Linked DNA regions of Homo sapiens: regions 2, 3 and 4 are each linked to region 1. The links are contacts of gene promoters, found by promoter capture Hi-C in blood cells and fetal thymus (Javierre and others, 2016). All regions are on one chromosome and are shown on one strand. Each heading gives the region's core, a stretch centred on a gene start or on the middle of the fragment in contact. The rest is flanking DNA. Distances are from core to core; before and after follow the strand shown.

Region 1 (3,802 bases), core at 410-2,909:
AAAGTTTAAAAAATTGTGAGTCATGGACCATCTGTATAGTGAGTTTGCTTAAAACCAAATATAGTGCTTTTTCAAAATCTGCTTTCATCTTTGATAAAGTTCTAACCTTGCTGCTCACCAAGGAATAAAAGAAACCACTGCGAAGGTGGCTTTGAATATTCTTTAAAAAAACAAAACAGGCTGGGCGCGGTGGCTCAGGCATGTAATCCCAGCACTTTGGGAGGCCAAGGCGGGTTGGATCACTTGAGGCCAGAAGTTCAAGACCAGCCTGGCCAACATGGCAACTTACAAAAAAAAAAAAAAAAAAGCCGGATGTGGTAACGTATGCCTGTAATCCCAGCTACCTAGCTGCTCAGGAGGCTGAGGCAGGACAATCACTTGAACCTGGGAGGTAGAGGCTGCAGTGAACCGAGACAGCGCCACTGCACTCCAGCCTGGGCGACAGATCAAAACTCTGTTCTCAAAAATAAATAAAAAATAAAAAACAAAACAACAACAACAACAAAAAATCCATGTGTGCAGAGTGGTTGACATGTCACTATGTGTTCCAGTAGCTCAGCTTGCTAAGTGCAGAACTTGAGACACAGTGTTTTAGTTCTGAAGGGGGGTAGGGATGGGAGTAATCCAAATGTTGGGTAATTCAGTAATTGGACACACCTGACTTTTGAACACATTATGTGATTGAGGTTAGTATTAACATCTTGCCACTGCCTATTAACATTTTGCAAGGGTAGATAGTTTCCTTCATCAGATACATATCGAAAGCAGTTTAGTTGCTCATACCAGAAGAGGGAAGTCAAGCTGGGTTTAACAATGTGTTGTGAGTTGCTGGGGAGATGACTAAGAGAAGATTGACAGATAGATGGTTTGAGGGAGTTAGGAAAAGCACTGTTTGAAATGTTCCCTGGGAGTTCAGAAGAGTGACGGGAGTGGCCCTGCCAGTGTGGTCAAGATTTACTCCTCCTTGAAGATGTGAAACCTCCTAGAAACAAGGAAAATAAGCTGGGAGGCAGAATGATTTTTATTTGGGGACATCCTCCCCTATAAAGGCAGGAACTGCTAAAGGGTTTGGGAAGAGGAAATCCTCCTTCAGCTTGTATCAGAATTACCTGGCTTGTGGGTTAAACATATACACCCCCAGGCCCTACCGCTATATGACTGAATCTGTTCCCCGCCGGAACTAGGCCCTGAAATCTATACGTGTGATAGGTGTTTCCACGGCTGTTACATCTAAAAATCACCCCGCAACTCTGCGTCTGAGAAAGTCAAGAGAAGGCTCCTGGGGGGAGGGAAGTACTGGCAGAGGGCTCACAAGGGCAGGGGTAGCCATGCAGCCTGTCCTTCCCATTCAACTGTAAAATGGAGAAAATAACAGAGCCTGCTTCCTAGGGTGGTCAAGAGGGGTAAGTTAGCAAATACCTGCATGAGCTCCAAGGGGTGCCTGGGCACGGTAGCGCTGCGCCTTGCTGGCGGGCGGGGGGTGCCGCCCGCCCGCCCGCCGCAGAGGGGAGCTCCCGCCTCCAGGCCCTCCACCCGCGCCCCCTCCCCTCGGGATTCGGCCGAGCGCCCTACCTGGGCTGCAGCCAGGCGGGCAGCGCCAAGGGCCCCATGGGCCGCCGCCGCCAGGGCTTCCAGCGCGGTCCAGGAAGGAGTACCGGGGAGGAGGCAGGGGCGGCCCCGCGGCTGGGCGCGGAAGGGCGGGGCCTCTCCACACTCAGCAGTTTACAAAAAGAAAAAGCCCGAGGTCGTGCGTTGGGGAAGAGATGAAAACGAAGTTCTCGAAGTTTCTGCAGCACTGCTAGAGCGCGTCAGGGCGCAAGGCTGGGAGGCGGCTCGCGTTCCCGGTGGGGTTACCAAACTCTGGTTACAGCTTCCTAATCTTTGTGTTGAGACCCCCTTGCAAGCCTTCTGGAAATTAATGCATCTGGGCGATTTCCGGGGCCTCCGAACTCGCTGAAGCCCATCCCCAAACCTCCCGAGATGAGTGGATTCCAGGGTGGGCTCTGCTCAATGCCCACCGGTGAGCCAGGTTCAGACACGAAGCTTGTGCCGGGCGCAGTGGCTAATGCCTATAATCCCAGCACTTTGGGAGGCCGAGGCGGGAGGATCTTTTGAGCCCAGGAGTTCGAGACCAGCCTGGGCAACATAGCGAAAACGCGTCTCTACTAAATGTACAAAAATTAGTCGGGCATGGTGACGCGGGCCTGTGGTCCCAGCTACTCCAGAGGCTGAGGTGGGAGGATCGCTTGAGCCTGGGAGGTCGAGGCTGCAATGAGCCAAGATCACGCGGCTACACTCCAGCCTGGGTAACAGAGCGAGATCCTGTCTCAAAAAATAAATAAAAATAAAACGAAGTTTGTAGCACACCTCCCCAACACTTTTTCAGCTAGGGGCCTGATTCCTCTTCTATCAGGCCTCCCTGCTCTCTAATCTCCCTTGGGTTCTCACTGGTGCCTGCAAATCTTTATTCACGTTGTGTTAATTTCTCTAGCCTATGCCCAGCACTGCTACAACCCCTTCGTGATCTCTCAGGCTTATGACATCACTGTCTCCGTACACAGATGACCCACCCTCCTGCTTTGCTAATAAGATCCAGCCCATCTTCAAGCTCCTCTGCCCAGAAAGGGAAACGTTAAAACAAAAACAGAAACATCTAAGAAGGCACTTGCAAGTAAGTGGGACAATGGCACCTGGTTTTGGAGTTGGAAGTTAGCGCCCCCATTTTTACCAAAAGGGAAGTTGAGGCATTAAAAAAATGTTAAGTCACTTGGCACAGGTCACACAATTGATAAAATGGCAGTATCAGAACTTCAAGGTTGGTGGGATTTCTTGTTTGTTTCCCATTAGGCCGTGGCTTCCTTTTTTCATAGTCCATTCCATTCACTATGCCTACCTCTCACCTCTACATTTCTCTGCACCTTCTCTCATACCCTGCCCTCAGTCGGAGGTTAACCCCAACTTTGTGTTTACCAGTCCCTTCTCAGACTCACTGCATCAGTAGTTAACCATCGCCTCTTCTTGCATCGTCATCCCCTCCTTTCCATTGGCTTTCACTGCACTTTAGGGACATAGACAACTCTCTCTTAGCATATAATTAAACATTGTATTCTTTCTGTTTCTCTCTCAATGGAATCTTCTAATAACTCCCTGCCTGCCTTCTCTGATCAGGTGCTTCTTTCATTTCCTACCATCTTCCTGTTCCATAATACCTTACAGTTTGACTCTCCTGACACTGCTCCGTCCGCGAGCATGTTAATTTTTCGCCGAATCCCTATCCTGTATCACCTTGCAGGATGATGCCCCACGGTCCTTGCTTTTACAGAACATTTGATCTAAAGGGTAAACTGGTGGCTAACCCATTATCAATGCTATCTCTGATCAGGTTAAGCAGCAAGAGAGAAAGTAAAGTCCCAGATGGCCTGCAGTGGGGCAGGAGGGAGAAGGTGGAAAGCCTGCCCAGAAGAATTGATCCTTTGTCACCAAACACAGCCCCTGCATCCACATCCTCATTGACAGGTCTGCTGCATTTTACCAGTTCTGTCTGTCTGCCATTTACCCCTGAAGTTCTACATATTCTACGTCTCTTGCCTTATGTCCCTTCTGTCTCTCTGGATGGGTCTTCTTCTCCTGCTGTATTTCCTCAAAAGTCTGCCCTTAGTCACCATCCATTTGTCACCATGTTATCCCTCAGCATAGACAACCACACATGGCTTTATCTCCATGTGGACAACTTTTGACTATTATTTTCAGCCCTTTCTTCTTTTATGAATACTATCTCTGGCCTTTGAGCAGCTTTTGGATA
Region 2 (3,933 bases), core at 826-3,325, 390 kb before region 1:
TATTTCAATAGACACTATAAAAGGTGCTAGTATTGGATCCAGTTTAATTCCAAACTAATTAAGCTTGGACTAGAACCAACTGCAATGAATCAAAGCAATCAGCACCTTTTACCCAAAATTATACAGTAGGTTAATCTAGCAAAAGGAAAGAATACACATTTCAGGCCAGGGTCATTATGTTAGTCAATTATCTTTTTGTGCAGGGGACAGAGACTAAGGGATCATAGGGGAGGATTTATTGGAAAGGTTCTGAGATAGCTCACAGATTCTGAAGAACCAGGGCCGTTTTAGGGCCTTCAGTGACTACAACCAGAATCTTAATGCCACCTCTTTCTTCCTACTGCCTTCTTTCCCTCTGGCTGTCAGCTTTATGCTTCTTGCATATGTACACTTCTGAGAAAAGGGGATACATTTTATGCCTTTAAAGGTTCTAGAATGGGAATCTGGGTCAAAGAATATGGATCTTTTACAAAGTTCTTGATATGTTGCCAAATTGCTTTCTAAAAAATACATACTGGTTTAGACTCTTAATAGGAGTGTACGATCATGCTTATTTTTGAAACAACCTCACCAGCCTTAAATTTTGTATTTTCATAACTTTTCTAGTAGAATAAAATGATATATCATTGAAATTGTTAACTTTTTGTATTATAGCAGTAAAAGTGAATTGTTTCACATATTTATTGGTATTTATATTTCTGCTTCTGAGATTTGTCTGCACATTGTACTTTTTTCCATTGAAGTTTCAGTGTTTTCATTATTGATTTAAACTACTACATGCTTTTTGTCAGATATATTGAAATATTTTTCTACTTTATAATTTACCTTTCATGTTTTGATGGCTTCTGTTGTGTAGACTCGAATTTTTCATGTAGTCAAATATCCGATGTTGATTCCTTTGTGGTTTAGGCCATTGATTTTATACTTAGACAATTATTCCTTCAGCTCAAGAACAAGTAAATAGTTCCCTAAATAAACTCCTAGTTTTTTAACCTGCACTTTGGCAAACTTTTGCCATATTTCAGGCACATGTTTTAGTAGTCATTGGTTTGTCTTACAGTGAACACTTTTCACATTTAATATCTGGAATTTATTTTAGTATATATTGCAAGTTGACAATTTAACTTAAGTTTTCACAGTTAACCAACGTATTGAATGATTTTTCCTTTACATATTGCAATGTGATGTCAACTTTATTATTTACATCAGTTTTATAAGTAAGAGATAGTATATATTTCTGGCTATTTATTTTGTTTCAAAGATATGCTCATAAACATTTACACTAGTAATACTGTGTTTTATGTGCTGTTTTAATGTCTGATGGGGCAAGTTCTTGAATTAGGACTCTTTTGGTTAAAAGAAAGAAAAACTTATTTAAGTTACTTTAAGAAAAAGGGAGAATATCCATGGACCCTGTGCCCAGAGGCAAGGATCTCTTTGACAAGGAGAGAGAGCTACAGAGCCACTCCAATTGCATCCTTTTAGCTGGGAGAATGCTTAATAGCTGTTCACTCTTCCCCTCACCAATTTTCCTTTTTTTTTTTTTAATTTCCTCACTCTTTTCTATTTTTTTTTAAGCTAATCAACTGTAGAATCACCGTTTCAAGCTCCAAAAGGTATCCTATTTGGATTTTGATTGGAGTTGCATTAAACCTATAAATTAATTTGAGAAGAACTGACATCTTTATAATAGTCATTGCTACCCAGGAACGTGTGAGGACTTCCCATTTATTCAAGTCTTCTTTTATGACCTTAAGTAAAATTTTGTAGTTTTACTTATATAGTTCCTGTCCATTTCTTGTTATGGTTATTCTGAAGTATTTATATCATTCATTTCTAAGCCAATTACAATCTGACTTCTATCTATTAATCTTAATTCTTTTGTTACTAAAAAAAAGAGGGGGGAAGTAGCGGAAATTATTTGAAGGACATTAAGGAAGCTCATAGAATTAAGTGAATAGAATTAAGATTCAAAAAAAGGTGGGGCAGATATTTCTCTTTCACAGGAGTGCATGCGCCTGCTCTCTCTCTCCATTGCTCATGTTTCATCTCTACATATCTCTGTATATTTACTTCATTCTGATATTTCCATCATTCAGAAGGAAAAAAAGATGTTTTCTCATTAGTTGCAGACAGAAAAATTCCATGCAAATGTTCAGATTGGTCTAGCTTGGGTCATACGCCTTCTTTTTTTTTTTTTTTTTTTTTTTTTAATGAGACAGAGTCTCACTATGTCTCCAAGGCTGGAGTGCAGTGGTGTGATCTCGGCTCACTGCAACCTCCAGTTCCCAGGTTCAAATGATTCTCCTGCCTTGGCCTCCCAAGTAGCCGGGACCACAGGTGCACGCCATCACACCCAGCTAAATTTTTTGTATTTTTAGTAGAGAAGGGGTTTTACCATGTTGGTCAGGCTGATCTCGAACTCCTGACCTCAAGTTATTCATCCACTTCAGCCTCTTAAAGGCTGGGATTACAGGCATGAGCCACTGTGCCCAGCCATATGCCTACTATTGAATGCTGCCTATCTCTACAGCCAGGAAGATGTGATGCTATAATTAGCACAACCTGAATCATGTGCCTGCTCCTGTGGACAGAGAAGCAGGATTTGTTGCCAGATGTAGAAGAGAAAGGCATTCCGGGCAGACAATAGCCACGGCATCCACTGACATTGTTGCTGTCAAATTTGCCTGTGATCACCTTTTTGCTAATTACAATGAATACTTTTCAACTCTTGGAATTATTTTAGTCTCTGAAGACTTTGATGCTGTTGACAACTTCTTGAAATTCCCTTCTCCTTTTGTTTTAGTAATGAATTTTCTTGTGTTTTTTCCTCTCTTTAACTCCTGCTGTTCATTTTTATTCCCTTTTTTAGAACCTTTTTTCTTTTACTCACCCTTGTTATTGGTTTTATCCAGGCTTCCATCTTTGATTTATTTATCTTCTCCTTCTAGAGTACATTATTCTGGATTATCTCATCTAATCCTATGGCTTCAATTATAACCTGCCCATGGATGATTCTCAAATCTCTTCCTCCAGGCCAGCTCTCACTTTGCGTGTTTAGGCTCAGCCTCTAGTAATAAGGAACTCACTGATTTAGCTACAAGGAAAAATGGGGGGTTGAACTATCTCTTGGCCACAGGAGACACTGAACATATTGTTAATACTCTAGAAACTGTGTCCTATAAAATAGTTTATTTTTAAATCTCTGCTATTCTTGAACACTTTGTTGTGCTTTCAAAGGAAGAATGTTTTCTCATTATTTGTACTTCATTTCTAATGATCTGATAGAAGCCAGAACAAGGCATAATAATTAGAAAAAAATGCTGGAATGGGTATCTAACTCAGGATTACGGTGGGGATCCAGTGAGATAATTGATACATGTAAAAAGTATTTGATAAGTCATAAACAGCCATATATTACCAATTTGGACCAAACAAGGTACCCTCTCTCTCTAAGAGATCCTGAGTGATTTCATTAGTCATTTAAATTTAATTTGATGCACAATGAATAGTCATAGTATATAAAATACATCTATTTCAACCCCAAAGCCAGCATCATGTTAATGGGAAACATCTGGAGAAGTCCCATTAAAATCAGGAGCTAGGTGAAAATATCTGTCACCTCTATTTGACACTATTTTGGAGACAGTAGCCATCACAAGAAAGGAGACAGAAATGAGAAGTATAAAAAGTGGAAAGGAAGAGGGCAAAATTATAATTATTTGTAAATATTACTATTGCATTTCTGAAAAACTTGAGATAACTGAAAAATTACTACAGATGATAAGACAATTCAGTAAGTTGGCTAAGTATAAAATTAGCATACGGAAATGAATAGTCAATTCATTAACGTGTATTAACTGTTAGTTTAGAAGATATAATGGACAAAAAGATTCCATTTACAAAAGCAATGAAAATGTAGAAAATCTATTT
Region 3 (3,914 bases), core at 1,086-3,585, 340 kb before region 1:
ATAGCTTTTGACCCCATTCCTGCTTAAGCCACTGTACAATTTATTTGTTACCCCTTATGGTATAACTATAATCCTGTCCAATTTCTTTCCTTCTATTCTTTCTTAAACCCACTTTAATCAGGCTTTCTCCCTCACCTCTATCAAAAAATTACTCTTACTAAAAGTAACTTTTCTGAGAAGTTACTTTTCTAAAAGTGACTTTATTTTTCATCTAGAGACAGAGTCTTGCTCTGTCGCCCTCTCTGAAGTGCAGTGGTGTGATCATAGCTCGCCACAGCCTTGAACTCCTGGGCTCAAGTGGTACTTCTGCCTTGCCTCCTGAGTAGCTAGGACTGCAGATATGTGCCACCATACCTGGCTAATTTTTCTATTTCTTGTAGCGGTGGGGGTCTTACCATGTTGCTCAGGCTGTTTTGAACTTCTGGCCTCAAGCAATCCTCCTGCCTGGGCCCAGAGTGCTGGGATTATAGGCGGAGGCACCATGCCTGGCCCTTTCATTTTCCTAAATCTAAAGGTCTGTTCCAAATTTTTACCTCTCAGTTGACCTGTCAGCATTTTTTTTTTTTTTGAGACAGCTAGTCACTCTCTGCTTCTTTATTTTTATTTTTGAGACAGAGTCTCACTCTGTCGACCAGGCTGGAGTGCAGTGGCGTGACCTCGGCTCACTGCAACCTTCATCTCTTGGGTTCAAGTGATACTTCTGCCTTAGTCTCCTGAGTAGCTGGGATTACCGGCATGTGCCACCACACCCAGCTAATTTTTGTATTTTTAGTAGAGATGGGGTTTCACCACGTTGGCCAGACTGGTCTTGAACTCCTGACCTCAAGTGATCCACCTGCCTTGGCCTCCCAAAGTGCTGGGATTACAGGTGTGAGCCATAGTGCTGGCCCAATCTCTGCTTCTTAAAGCACTTTCTTCCCTTATTAGCAAAAATACCACAATTCCTGGTTTTCCTCCTACGTCATTGTCCCTTTTTAGACTCCTTTACTGGTTCTTCCTTATCTCCCTGATAAGAGTGCTGTTAACATTGGAGTGCTTCAGGGGTCAGTCATTAGACCTTATACTTCTGGATCATATCATTCAGCCTTTAAATATTAGCATTATTATTATTTATTAATTAATTAATTTTATTTTATTATTATTTTTTGAGATGGAGTCTCGCTCTGTCCCCCAGGCTAGAGTGCAGTGGCGTCATCTCGGCTCACTGCAAGCCGCACCTCCCGGGTTCACGCCATTCTCCTGCCTCAGCCTCCTGAGTAGCTGGGACTACAGGTGCCCGCCACCATGCCCAGATAATTTTTTGTATTTTTAGTAGAGACGGGTTTCACCATGTTAGCCAGGATGGTCTCGATTTCCTAACCTCGTGATCTGCCCACTTCGGCCTCCCAAAGTGCTGGGATTATAGGCATGAGCCACCAAGCCCGGCCAATTTATTTTTTGAGATGGAGTCTCCCTCTGTCACCCAGGCTGGAGTGCACTGGCACGATCTCGGCTCACTGCAACCTCCGCCTCCCGGGTTCAAGCGATTCTCCTGCTTCAGCCTCTTGAGTAGCCGGGACTACAGGTGCGCACTACCACACCAGGCTAATTTTTTTATTTTTAGTAGAGACGTTGGCCAGGCTGATCTCGAAAAATGATCCACCCGCCTTGGCCTCCCAAAGTGCTGGGATTACAGGTGTGAGCCACGGCACCTGGCCTAAGTATTAGCTTTAAATACTAGTAATACCCTACTAGCTTCCAAATTTATATTTTCAGCCTCGCCTTCCCTTGAACTCCTGACTCCGTATATCCAGTGACTACTCAGCATTTTCTGTTTGGATGACTAATATATATTTCAAACTAAACTCTGAAATTTCCTTTTTTACCTATAATCTTTCCTATTTCAGTTAACAGAAACTCCATCCTTTTTATGAGATAGGCTAAAAACCTGAGTATCATCCTTGACTCTTCTTTATCTCACAATCTATATATATATACTGTTACTTTGGAAAGTGTGTTGGCTATACCTTCACAATGTATTTAGAATCCAAGTACTTGTCACTACCCACTGCTATCACCCTAGTCTAAGCCCCCGTTGTTTATGTCCGGATCTTGCAGTAGCCTCTATATTAGTTATCAATTGTTACCTACTCCCAACATTTTGTGGCTTAAACCAACAGTTATGTATTAGTTTGTGATTCTGTGGTTGGCAGCTTAGGTTGGACTTGGGGTAGATGTGGGGCAGCTCTTTTGCTGGTCTTGCCCGTGCTCACTCATGTAGTGATCGGCACTGGTAGGTTTGGAGGCCTCAGCTGAGATGGCTTATCTCTGCTCTACGTGGTCAGTAAACTATCTCATGTTTATGTTTCTTTACGTAGTGGTGTAATGGAAGCAAGATAACAAGAGGAAACTATGTGGCCTTTTGAGGCCGGGACTTAGAACTTCTACAGCTTCACTTTCCCTGCTGTTGGTGAGAGCAGGTCACCAGGTCAAGCCAGATGAAGGGGAGAGAAAATTAGCCTACTTTTTTTTCTGAGGGGGTGCAGCAAAGTCACTTTGTAAAGCAGTTTGTATACAGAGATTGGGAGCAATTGGAGGCCATTTTTTGCAAACTGTCCTGGCCTTCTAATGGATTGCTTCTATCTTTCCCCTTACAGTATTGTCAGAACAGCAGCCAGAGTGATTTTATAAAAACGTGAGTTAGATCTCTTCTCTGCCCCAAACTCTCCAGTGGCTTCCCGTTGCCACCCAAAGTAAAAGGCAGTCTTGGGATTGTCCTGTGAGGCTTGCCATGATCTGACCCATTTGTTGCCTCTCCAACTCCATTTACAGCCACTCTCTCTCTCTTACTTAATCTGCTCAAATGAGCCTCTGCTGTTCTTCAGACATCTGAGGCATGCTTTCACCATGGCATTGGCACTGCTACTCTTTCCGCCTAGAGTCTTCTTTTCTGAGATGACGAAACTGCTCTTTTACTCCCCTTCAGGCTACTCGAGTACTTCCTCAGCCTTTCCCTGACCATCCTTTTAAAAATAGAAACCTCTCTCTCTAATACTGTCTATCCTCCACTCTGGTTTACTTTTATCCATAGCACTTATCTTCAGAAATGCTATGTAATTTACTATTTTGCTTATTCTTGTCTTGCCTCTACTAGGAATGTAATCTATAAGGGCAGGGATTTTTCTCTGTTTTCCCAGTGCTTAGTATAGTGTCTGATACAAGGTAGGCATCTCATAAATATTTCTTAAATGGAGGAATGAAAGGTACTGCAACCTTTTTCAGGATTAGGTATCTCTTCCATTCTTTATGGAAAAGCTCTGGACCATTATCTGAGGAAATTCCTGGTCTCCTTTGCAAGTACTTTTGCAATCACTATTTATTTATTTATTTATTTATTTAGATGGAATCTTGCTCTGTTGCCCAGGCTGAAGTGCAGTGGCACAATCTTGGCTCACTGCAACCTCTGCCTCCTGGGTTCAAGTGATTCTCGTGCCTCAGCCTCCCAAGTAGATGGGATTACAGGTGCGTGCTTCCACGCCTGGTTAATTTCTGTATTTTTAGTACAGATGGCACTTCACCATGTTGGCCAGGCCAGTCTCGAACTCTTGACTTCAAGTGATCTTCCTGCCTTGGCCTCTCAAAGTGCTGGGATTGCAGGTGTGAGCCACCGTGCCCAGCTGCAATCCATTTTTTAAAAGAGGTCTTCTAGACCAAGTATTCTTCCACATCCAGACTCTAATTTATTCTTTGCAAGAAGATTATCATGTTCTCTTAACTATATGCAATACCTTTCTTGATACTTAATAGCAACCTCTTCACTTTGAGTTGTAAATCATAACATTTTTTGTACAAAGCAAAGCTGAAACAGGTGAAAGGAATAGTCTAGGGCAGAAAATTTTCAAACCTTTTCTAAGGTCTTAGACTCTCTCCACCTC
Region 4 (3,734 bases), core at 201-2,700, 360 kb before region 1:
AGGCTCAAGCAGTCCTCCCACCTCAGCCTCCCAGGTAGCTGGGACTACACGTGCGTGCCACACGTGGTGTCTCACCATGTTGCCGAGGCTGGTCTTGAACCCCTGAGCTCAAGCGATCTGCCCACCTGGGCCTCTCCAAGTGCTTGGATTACAGGCGTGAGCCACCATGCCCGACTCCTAATTAATAAAATTCTTTAATTAGATTGTTTTTTAATTATCAAGTTGTAAAAGTTTTTCTACATTCCTCTTTACTCTTAATTAGTTGAAAATTTGTCAATTGTTCTTTAAGGTAAAAAGGCTAAATCAAGACCTTATGCTACCAGTTTGGATAAGAAGCGAGGCACTGGGTCTATCTGTAGTGGTATGTTGCAGTCAGTTTGTCACAAGAGCCAATTGTTAAATTTCAGGAACTTTGCAAACTACTTGTTAAACACAGTCCTTATTAAAAAGCAAATTATATCAACTTACAATTAAATATCTTATATTAGTATTAGAAATAAATATATTAGATGTTCTAAGCTTATTACTTCTGAATTATTTTTCTACATTTTATTATTATTTATGCTATTGAGGTTATTTATGCTATTGTCTCTATGGTGGAAATATTATACAATTATGTGTAAGTGTACACCTCTTCCCAACTCCATATGGAAATTGACCATGTGGGAGTACTGTATTTATACCATGGAAGTTGGCAAACACTACACATCAGCTTCTCCCCTATCTCTTTCCACCAAGAGCTGCTAATTAAACATCTGTCAGCGCACCACTGGACAATTAGGCCTGGATATTATAAAGATGTTCCAAAGGCCTAATTCTTGACAGAGAATGTAAGCAGAAGAGAATTTTTTAAGACCCCTAGCAACCCTTGCTGAGAGCACATCTTTGAAGTCCAGGCTGTGGTGCCACTTTGGAACAACTCTCATGAAGTTGCATCAAAAGATACTGGTCAGCTTTGCCTGCTAAGTTGGAGAAAGTAGGCCATGTGTTCTTTGAATGTCTGGAGGACGATGATGATTTTATTTGACTTTGCTCTGTATAATCAGTGTTTAGCATGGCGTTGAGCTGATACTATTTACTCAGTAATATTTGTTGAATAAATGATAGCTGTGCTTTTCTTCTGCCCCATGGTTATAAGGACTGAAATTTAAGAAGCCTGATTGAATAGATTCCTTCAAAATTTCCCCCCAATACCTACTTAATAAGTTCCTGGGATAAGAGGTTGTCTCAGAATCCAGGGTGAGATGGGGTAGAGTTGGGGCAGAACTATACCTATGGAAGCAGCAAGAGAACAAATTACTTCTGTGGTACATATTCTGCAAAAATGCAAGAGCCACAGTCAAGGGCAATTGACTTCTTCCTTGTAAGACCCTCTTTTTCTGGTTAAAAAAGTTTTTCTTCTATAAATCTAGTTCTCTAAGTCTCATAGGCCAGCCCTGAACCACATGGCCATGACTTGCTGTAAGGAAGTCTGGGAAAGTATCTGGCAAAGGGGAAGAAGAGAGCCATGGTTGGCTTAGGTTAGGGGTAGGCAAACTATAGTCTGTGGGTCAAAACTGGATGATCACCTAATTTTAGAATGTTTTCAAGCTAAGAATAGTTTTTACATAAAAATATATACCAGAGCATAGCCATCATGTCAAAACAAGAAAAGAAGAGAAAAGTGAACTTTTTGTGTCATGCTTTTAAGGCACAGTGGATTGTGGATTATTTTGTTATCAAATTGGATGACAAAGTATGTGTTTATTGTGCAGTGATACTATACCTGTACTAAAAGATAATATACATCAATATTCCCAGATTCATCACAATATTCCCAACTCACAGGGAGACAATGGTCAGAAAATGTGAAAATTTACAATGGAAAACGTCATCACAGCAGAATTTCTTCACAAAAATAACAAAAGAGTTGAAACCAAAGTAATTTTCTGAGTGGCTTCTTTGTTGGCCAAGCAAAGAAAGCTGTTTACTGATGATGAGTTAATTAAATCATGTTTGATCACAGCAGCTGAAAAAATTTTTTCCCAAGAAAATAAACTTGTTTCAGACGATTAACCTTTCAGTGAGATCTGTTGTTTGAAGAGTTGAAGACACTGGGAGCAACATCAATAGTCATGTACAAAACAAGGTAGATGATTTTGAGTGGTTTTCCTTGGCTCTTGATGAGTTGACAGGTATTACCAATAGTGCTCAGTTGCTTATTCAAGGAGTCAACGCTGAGTTTAAAGTCACTGAAGAATTAGCCTCTATGAATCGTCTGCGTAGAACAACTATGGGCAAATATATTTTCAAAGATGTTGGGAAAACATTAATAAAACCTGAAGTAGAATCTGTTAAGATGCCTTATAACTTATGGTGATAAAAATGTGTATGGAGAAGAAAAAGCTTAGTTGGACAAATTAATAAAGCTTGTGAAAATGTGAGAGACTTAAAGCCCATTGTTACTTACTATGCTGTTCATCAGCAGGTAATTTGCAGAAAGTGTTTGAATCTATTGTGTGTTTCTGACCCAGAAGTTCCAATGGTGAACTTCATTTACTCTGGTGGACTTAATGATCAATTCTGCAAACTTTTGTCAAAAATAGAAGCTGAATATCCCGATTTGCCCTATCACACAGCAGTTTTATGGCTTAGCAGCGGTAAAGTTTTGTTGCAATTTTTAAAACTCAGGCCTGAGACTTCTGGAATGAGAAGAACCTCCCTCAATTACTGTTATTGAACATGAGTGGCTTTGAAAATTAGCTTGTGTGGCAGACTTCATCATGTTTCTCAATATAAAATTACAAGGCAAACAGAGCATATGTCCAAAACTCACATTATGGTAAAGTCATTTTAACAAAAACTAATGCTGTTTCAATCACAAGTAATGTCAACCTGCTTAATATAGTTCCTGTGCTGTCAAAGTTTTAAAAAGAAGCAAGAGCTCCATTCCCACAAACATTTGCAGGAGATATATTTTCCAAAATCAAACTAAAGTTCCAATAGCATTTTTGGATTTCAATGCAAGTGGAAAGGAAATTTTCAAACATCAAAATCCATTTATTAAAGAAGACACAGATAAATGGAAAGACATCCTCTGTTCATGGATTGGAAGAATACCATTACAATGTTCATACCACACAACATGATCTACAGATTCAATACAATCCCTAAAAAATTTTGATAATACTATTTAAGAAATAGAAAAAAACAACATAAAATTTATAACAAACCACAAAAGGCCCTGAATAGCCAAAGCAATCTTGAACAAGAAGAACAAAGCTGGAGGTATCATACTTCTTGATTTCAAAGTACATGACAATGCTACACTAATCAAAACAGTATGGTACTGGCATAAAAATATACAGATAGGCCAATGGAACAGAGCAGAGAGCCCACGAATAAATCTATGTATCTATGGTCAACTGATCTTAAACAATAACACACAAGGATCGACTCTTTATTAGATGGTGTTGGGAAAACTGGATATTCACATGTAGGAGAATGAAATTGGACCCTTACCTCACCCCATGTGATAAAGTCAACTAAAACAGATTAAATATTCAAACATAAGATCTAAAACTGTAAAATTACTAGAAGCAAAGATAGGAAGAAAGCTTCTTGACCTTGTTCTGAGCAATGATTTTTTGAATATGACCCCAAAAGCACAGGCAACGAAAGCAAAAATAGACAGGTGGGATTGCATCAAACCAAAAAGCTTTTGCACAGCAAAGGAAACAACAGAATTAAGAGAC

What was found. The method cuts DNA at HindIII sites, captures the fragments that hold promoters and counts their contacts. A CHiCAGO score of 5 or more calls a contact.
Region 2: a fragment that was not itself captured here is called in contact with the fragment with the promoter of HACD4 in region 1 in 1 of 17 cell types (neutrophils); the score reaches 5.4 in neutrophils.
Region 3: a fragment that was not itself captured here is called in contact with the fragment with the promoter of HACD4 in region 1 in 1 of 17 cell types (neutrophils); the score reaches 6.3 in neutrophils.
Region 4: a contact is called between a fragment that was not itself captured here and the fragment with the promoter of HACD4 in region 1, in 1 of 17 cell types (neutrophils). The highest score is 5.2, in neutrophils.

Annotation. Positions count from the first base shown.
Region 1 is chr9:21,029,981-21,033,782 of GRCh38, forward strand. HACD4 (3-hydroxyacyl-CoA dehydratase 4) reads right to left here and starts at 1,660. Exons shown (of 7, transcript NM_001010915.5): 1 at 1,573-1,660. The coding sequence starts at 1,610. LOC105375989 (a long non-coding RNA gene) reads left to right here and starts at 1,662. Exons shown (of 3, transcript XR_007061435.1): 1 at 1,662-2,020; 2 at 2,492-2,671; 3 at 3,383-3,802. RefSeq lists a silencer at 1,436-1,795 and an enhancer at 1,439-1,999. The HindIII fragment of the contact is 3,612 bases long and covers 1-2,041 here.
Region 2 is chr9:20,644,322-20,648,254 of GRCh38, forward strand. No RefSeq gene overlaps it. Among named protein-coding and RNA genes, the nearest start is that of MLLT3, 24 kb to the left of the region's middle. The HindIII fragment of the contact is 4,029 bases long and covers 62-3,933 here.
Region 3 is chr9:20,690,353-20,694,266 of GRCh38, forward strand. All of the region lies in intron 1 of FOCAD (focadhesin), which reads left to right. Among named protein-coding and RNA genes, the nearest start is that of FOCAD-AS1, 7.6 kb to the left of the region's middle. The HindIII fragment of the contact is 5,795 bases long and covers 1-3,914 here.
Region 4 is chr9:20,673,696-20,677,429 of GRCh38, forward strand. It overlaps a transcript of FOCAD not described here. Among named protein-coding and RNA genes, the nearest start is that of FOCAD, 8.7 kb to the right of the region's middle. The HindIII fragment of the contact is 1,866 bases long and covers 518-2,383 here.